Regions from separate parts of the Homo sapiens genome. Here region 2 is linked to region 1. Evidence: promoter capture Hi-C in 16 types of primary human blood cells and fetal thymus (Javierre and others, 2016). All regions are on one chromosome and are shown on one strand. The core of a region is centred on a gene start or on the middle of the fragment in contact, and the rest is flanking DNA. Distances in the headings are between cores, read along the strand shown. Region 1 holds the start of ZNF516 (zinc finger protein 516). Region 2 holds the start of LOC107985151 (a long non-coding RNA gene).

Evidence for each region. Contacts are between HindIII fragments. The CHiCAGO score rates a contact against its expected background, and 5 or more counts as called.
Region 2: a fragment that was not itself captured here is called in contact with the fragment with the promoter of ZNF516 in region 1 in 4 of 17 cell types (M0 macrophages, monocytes, M2 macrophages and 1 more); the score reaches 7.9 in M0 macrophages.

The regions. Positions count from the first base shown.
Region 1 is chr18:76,493,746-76,496,523 of GRCh38, reverse strand. It overlaps ZNF516 (zinc finger protein 516), which reads left to right and starts at 1,282. Exons shown (of 7, transcript NM_014643.4): 1 at 1,282-1,380. It overlaps ZNF516-DT (ZNF516 divergent transcript), which reads right to left and starts at 1,185. Exons shown (of 2, transcript NR_164145.1): 1 at 738-1,185; 2 at 1-245. It overlaps ZNF516-AS1 (ZNF516 antisense RNA 1), which reads right to left. Exons shown (of 2, transcript NR_136504.1): 2 at 2,606-2,778. RefSeq lists silencers at 1,173-1,232, 1,363-1,462, 2,163-2,252. The HindIII fragment of the contact is 7,170 bases long and covers 1-2,497 here.
Region 2 is chr18:76,658,696-76,661,494 of GRCh38, reverse strand. It overlaps LOC107985151 (a long non-coding RNA gene), which reads left to right and starts at 127. Exons shown (of 3, transcript XR_001753506.1): 1 at 127-531. RefSeq lists an enhancer at 2,287-2,788. The HindIII fragment of the contact is 3,630 bases long and covers 1-2,799 here.

The DNA of each region.
Region 1 (2,778 bases), core at 33-2,532:
TCGCCAGCTTTCGGGCACATGCGCCTCCCTTTGCAGCGCGTCTGGAGTAGTTTCTTTTGTAAACGCCCTAAGTTGGGGAGGGCCGCGGGCTGCGAGTGTGAGGCGCAGAGAGAGACGCCGCCGCTGAGGTAACCGCCAGGATTGCAGCGCTGATTGCTACGCGGAGCCACGTTGGGCGTCTTGGACGGAATCCACCTCCACTGCGGAGTTATCACGAGGAGAAGGAGAACAATACGGCCAGGAGCCTGGTGGGAGAAGATAGTGTTACCCCTCCGCAGGCCGCAGCTCCCCGGGTCTACGTCACCGGCCGTGAAGGGGCGCTCGCCCTCGCTAGCTCCGACCCGCCCCTCCCCCGCCCCCGCGCGCCCGCCCTCCCCTCCCCCACCCCGGCCATCCCTGCCCTGTAACAGGAGAGCGTTTTGGAGTCAAATTAGGATTTCTAGTCCCAGACTCAACTTATTACAACTAACTACTGCTCGTGGGGAGTAGGTGAGGTGAAGAAATGAAGTTTTAAGAACAGAAAAATAAGAGTTGAACTTTCGAGGCTACCGGTAAACAACCCCTTCATTTTTAAATGGCCGGGTGGCAGAGCCGCTGTTTGAAGTCTTTCCAGCGGGACCTCTGTGACCCTTGATTCAGGACTTAATGTATTGATCCTGCATCTGAACACCCCCAGAGGCATTTACCAGGAAGTTGAGTGACACGCACACGCTACGCCGTGTGTAATGCACACGCACCTGGGACCCCCGAAGGGGTGTCCCCATTTCAGTCCAGATGGGGCGCAGTGCCCAGGTACCCGCCGGCGGGACCCGCATCCCGAGCACGTCTGTACGTATGGATGCGCGTGTGCGCGCGGAAACGGCCTCCGGGAGCCGGGGCTGCAGCAGCCTTAGACCTTGACGAGGGGCGACCACTGGCCGCTGGAACCGTGATTCAGTGCTATTAGGGGAGGAATTGGCTGTGTCTGAGTCACTGCAAGCCTCCAGACTGTCCCCTCAGTGTGGCAGAACTTTGTGCTGATGAGACAATAGTGGAGTGTGCGTTTCCTACAGGGCAGACCATTTCCAGGCTGGGGGAAGCCTCCGGCCTGCGCCGGGCCGTGAGCGCCCGGCCCCCTCCCCGTGCCGCGCAGCCCCCCGAGCCCGGCTCGCGCCGGGGCCCCCGCGGGGCGGACGCGTCCGGGGCGCGCGCGGGCGGCGCGAGGAGGGGGCCGGGCGCGTGGCGGGCCCCGCGCGCCCTCGCGCGTCCCCCGCGCCCGGGCGCAGCTGGCGCGGTCGGTCTAGTGCAGCGCTCGGCTCCGCGCCGCGGGCGCTCGGCTTCACCTTCAGATGCGCGGGGCGTGCGCGTCCTCCTCCCCAGGCCCGCCGCCTCCCTGCCAAGGTAGGGGCCGCGGGCGGGGGGAGGGCTGCGCCGCAGGGGCCGCGGGCGGGCGGTGGGCGCGGGGCCCGGAGCCCCGACGTGCCCCGTACTCTGGTGTGCGCCGCTGGGGGTAGGGGGGGAGGCGCTGGGGAGGGGGGTGCGCCGGGGAGGGGCCCCCCGGGCGCGGGGAGGGCTACTTGGCTTTCCCGGTGGGTAGTTGCTCTGCTCGTCAATTCCAGGATAGGGGAAGATGCAACTTCGGGCGGCGGGGCGAGCGCCCGGGAGGTGGTTTTTACCGCAGTGGAGGGGCGGGGTGGGGGCCGGGGTGGGAGCGCGGAAGAGGCTCTGGCTTTGTACACTTTGTCAAAGGCGACGCGGGAGGAGGGGAGCTCGGATGCGCTCTCCATCCATTAGGAGACAAAGAGCAAATTGCCTTACTTTAAAGTAAAACGCTCCGGCTAATGAAGGTGGGTGATGGGGCTGCGGGCCCGAGGAGCCGCTTCAATTATTAAGGGTTTGGCGGATGGGATCGATGCCTGTGGGCACCGCGCGCTGCTGCCTAGGGGACGTGTTTGCGTGGAGGTGGGGGTGGCCTTGTTTTTTACGGCCCCCTCCCCGGCTGCTTGCCAGTCTGCTGGGAGCTTCTAAGTGACCCTAACGTTAAAGAAGTGAGAGGTCCTGGAAGGGAAGTTCGGGCGGGGGTGGGGGTGGGGGCGAGGGTCTGGCACCGACTCGGAGAGGGGTGGGCAGGGACTCCTCGGAGCTGCGCCCCGCCGGGTGCGGGTGGGGGAGGCCTCGGTGGCGAGATGAACCCGGGTGTATGAAGGAAGAATGCGGTGGGGTGTGTGTGGTTGGGCGGGAGGTGGGGGGAGGCGCCTCCGCTGCCATTTCCAGGGAGAACTAACAGACTGAATAGTTACGATCAGTATTTAGATTAAACCGCCTCAAGTTTTAACGAAACTTTGTATGAATAAGTTTGTTAAATGGCAGCCGAGTGGGGTATTTAAAAGCAGCAGTTTATGTGTGTGGTGAGGAAAGCCAGTGGACCCCCGCAATTAGGGACCAGAGGGAACCAGCCTTTTACCCGAAAAATGTGGGTCTGTAAGTCAGCCTCATCTATTATCAGCGTTAATAAGCTTCCCGCAGCAGACCGGGAGCTCTGGGGGCTGTGTGTGTGTCTTACTCATTCCGCTGATAAAGAGTCACCGGGTCTCCGGGTGTGCAAAGATCAACTTGCGCAGCCCTCTTTTTAAATATATTCATTCTGTGCTTTATTTAATCCAGATGCACAAAAAGCCATTTGCTGCTGCATTGTTGGTTTACATTTTTTGAAAAGGCGACTGGTGTAACCTGTGGAATTTGAAATGCAAATAAGAGCCTGTGGGAGTAGAGGCAGAACAGATCAGCATTTATAAAGTG
Region 2 (2,799 bases), core at 256-2,755, 160 kb before region 1:
GTAAAACATCAGACTTCCCCAGAGCAAACGCACCCTTTGCAAAGTGATTATTTGGTTATTCGTCTTCCTCTATTAATTTGCTTTTCCACCCGTGCATCTATATGGAGGTTATGCAAGTTTGATGTTCACAGAAGCATTCTTCAGCAAAGATAATTAATTCAAACATTAAAAATATATACATTCTGTTGTTTTGCTTTCCTCTTTCAGAAAGGGAGTTTTAAAAACCTTTTTCCTTCACCTAGTAGACCTGGCAGTATATGAGTGTTTGTTATTTCTCCTGTGCTGTGGAGTCCTCATACGCTTTGCCACCTTACAGCTGCACCACTCGCGAAGACCCTGTTTTTGTGATCTAGCTGAATTGTGACTTCAGGAAGATGAAGTTTGGATGTTGCCGTTCTTGTGGCAAACACAGGTGACACACCAATACAGGGGGCTGGATGCTGGTCCCCCCTGGGCATGGCGTGAATTCTTCAGAGTATGGATGTACGCAGTGTACGGGTGAGGGGTGTCCCTGTTCGTGTCCCTAAAGAGGTAAGCTGACTCCAGATGGCCTGTTCCAACTCTGTCCCCAGCCCCTCCAGGGCGGGGCCCCACCTGCCTGAGGCTGTTCACCCCCAGCCTCTTGCTGCAACAAGCCCCTCGTGCTGCCAGGCCTTCTTGGAAGAGGCACCAACCATTCCTGGCTACTTCCCAAGGAGGCCAACTGGTGAAGGAAAATGAACCATCCTCACAGTGGAGACAGTGATGGCAGCTGGTACAGACATCCTCTGCCTGCTCCTCCTCCCCATTCTGGTCTCTCCCTCCAAATACAACTGGATTGGCTGGGCCAGCATCTCCCTGGGGATTGGGACCCCTCTCTCCTATGAAAACAGCTCTAATCACTGTGAGTCCCCATTTGGTGTGCACCCCATGAACTTGGTTTTGGGAGAGACACCTGATTGGGAGCCATAGCTGTGTCTACTGCACCTAGGACCCACAGCCCCATCCCTTTGCCTTATCTTCGCCCCTCTTTGTGTTCTTGTAGACAGATGGGAAGGGAGATGGGGCGGGGGGCAGATGGAGTGTTTGGAGGGGCAGATCAGCCTGGACTGATCGCTCCCTGGACCTGATGAGCAGCTGAAGTCACTCCTGGACCCTCCCACTGTTACTGTTATCTGTGGGACCCTGTTTCCCAGGGTTGGGGCCTTCCTCTTCTCCTCCAGAAGGTAGGCATCCTTCAGTAGCATCCTAAGAAGGGTGCAGAGGGGCACGGTTCTGAGGGCCCGGCAGGACTACACGTCTTTATTTTACCTTCATGTTTTATGGTTTGATATAAAACTACAGTTTTACTATAGCTTTCCACTTAGCATTTCCCTATTTACTTTTTATTTTTATCAAAGAAAATGTCCAATAGAGCCAGACCCTCCTCCAGGCCGTTCTTTTGGTGTTGACCACTGACCCGATCCATTTACGTCATCTGTGTGTACCGGCAACGCTGGCTTCATTCACTTTCTCCTATTGTTGCCTTGTTGTTTTTGGCTGGTTTTCACAGTAGGTCCTAAAATTTCTATTTTTGAAACTCTAAACATATATAAAAAAAAGAGAGAGTAGCATAATGGACCCCTGTGAACACGCACCATGCAGCCTCAACAAAGATCAACTCCTGGGCAGCTGTGTCTCCCAGGCTGCAATACAGGCCACAGTGACCATATTGAAGGCACTGCGGCATCTTCCAGCCTCCCTGCGACTGAGCAACTCACTTCCATTCTAATGCCTTTTCACCTGGGAGCTGCTTGTTTGTTGTTCCCATTTTAAAGCCCTCAAGATCATCTATTGAATGATGGCGTCTTGGAATTCCATGACGACAGACCTGTGATCATGTCTCCTTTCATTCTGCTGGTCCTTGGCAGGTCTCTTACATTTGGGCACTTGTTAGTTCTGTGAACTTTTACTTGACTTCATCCTTCAGACCTTCTACAGAATTTTTTTTTTTTGAGACGGAGTCTCGCTCTGTCGCCATGCTGGAGTGCAGTGTCGCGATCTCAGCTCACTGCAACCTCTGCCCCCTGGGTTCAAGCTATTCTCCTGTCTCAGCCTCCTGAGTAGCTGGGACTACAGGTGCCCGCCACCACGCCCAGCTAATTTTTGTATTTTTAGTAGAGATGGGGTTTCCCCATGTTGGCCAGGATGATCTCGATCTCTTGACCTTGTAATCCACCCGCCTCAGCCTCCCAAAGTGCTGGGATTACAGGCGTGAGCCACTGCGCCTGGCCAGAAATTTTGTTTTATTTTAGTTGTCATTCCTACAAATTCCAGGAGCTGTGATTTAGTCTCTGTCTGCGTGCACGTGTGCGTTCATCTTGCTGTTTTATGAATGCAGCATTTGCCTAAGGATGTTAATATAGATTTTTTAAAAGTTTTTTTCTGCTCTCTTTATAGACTGCTTCCTCTATGTTAATTTTTGTAACTTTCATTATTTTTTTTAAATCAAATCTTTTGTGGTGCTAGACTGTCCTTTCACATTGACGACCAAGGTACTAAAAACCAGACTGAGTCACGGCAGGGCCTGTGGGCTAGGGGCATCATTCATTTCCCCTGTCGGGGGAAGGCCGCCCACCCATGGCTTCTGATTGTCTGGGAGCAGGTGGTCAGGGGCTCCTGCACTGAGGAAACTCTTCCTGGGCCCCCTGCATGGAGCGCCCCCACCCCTGTGAGATGGAGAAGGAGGGCAAGAGCTCCCCCTGTGGCCCAGCTATGGAAGGAGACCCTTTTTGTTGGGCTCCTTGTGGTAAACGACCTCTTCCTGTCCACATCTTCAGC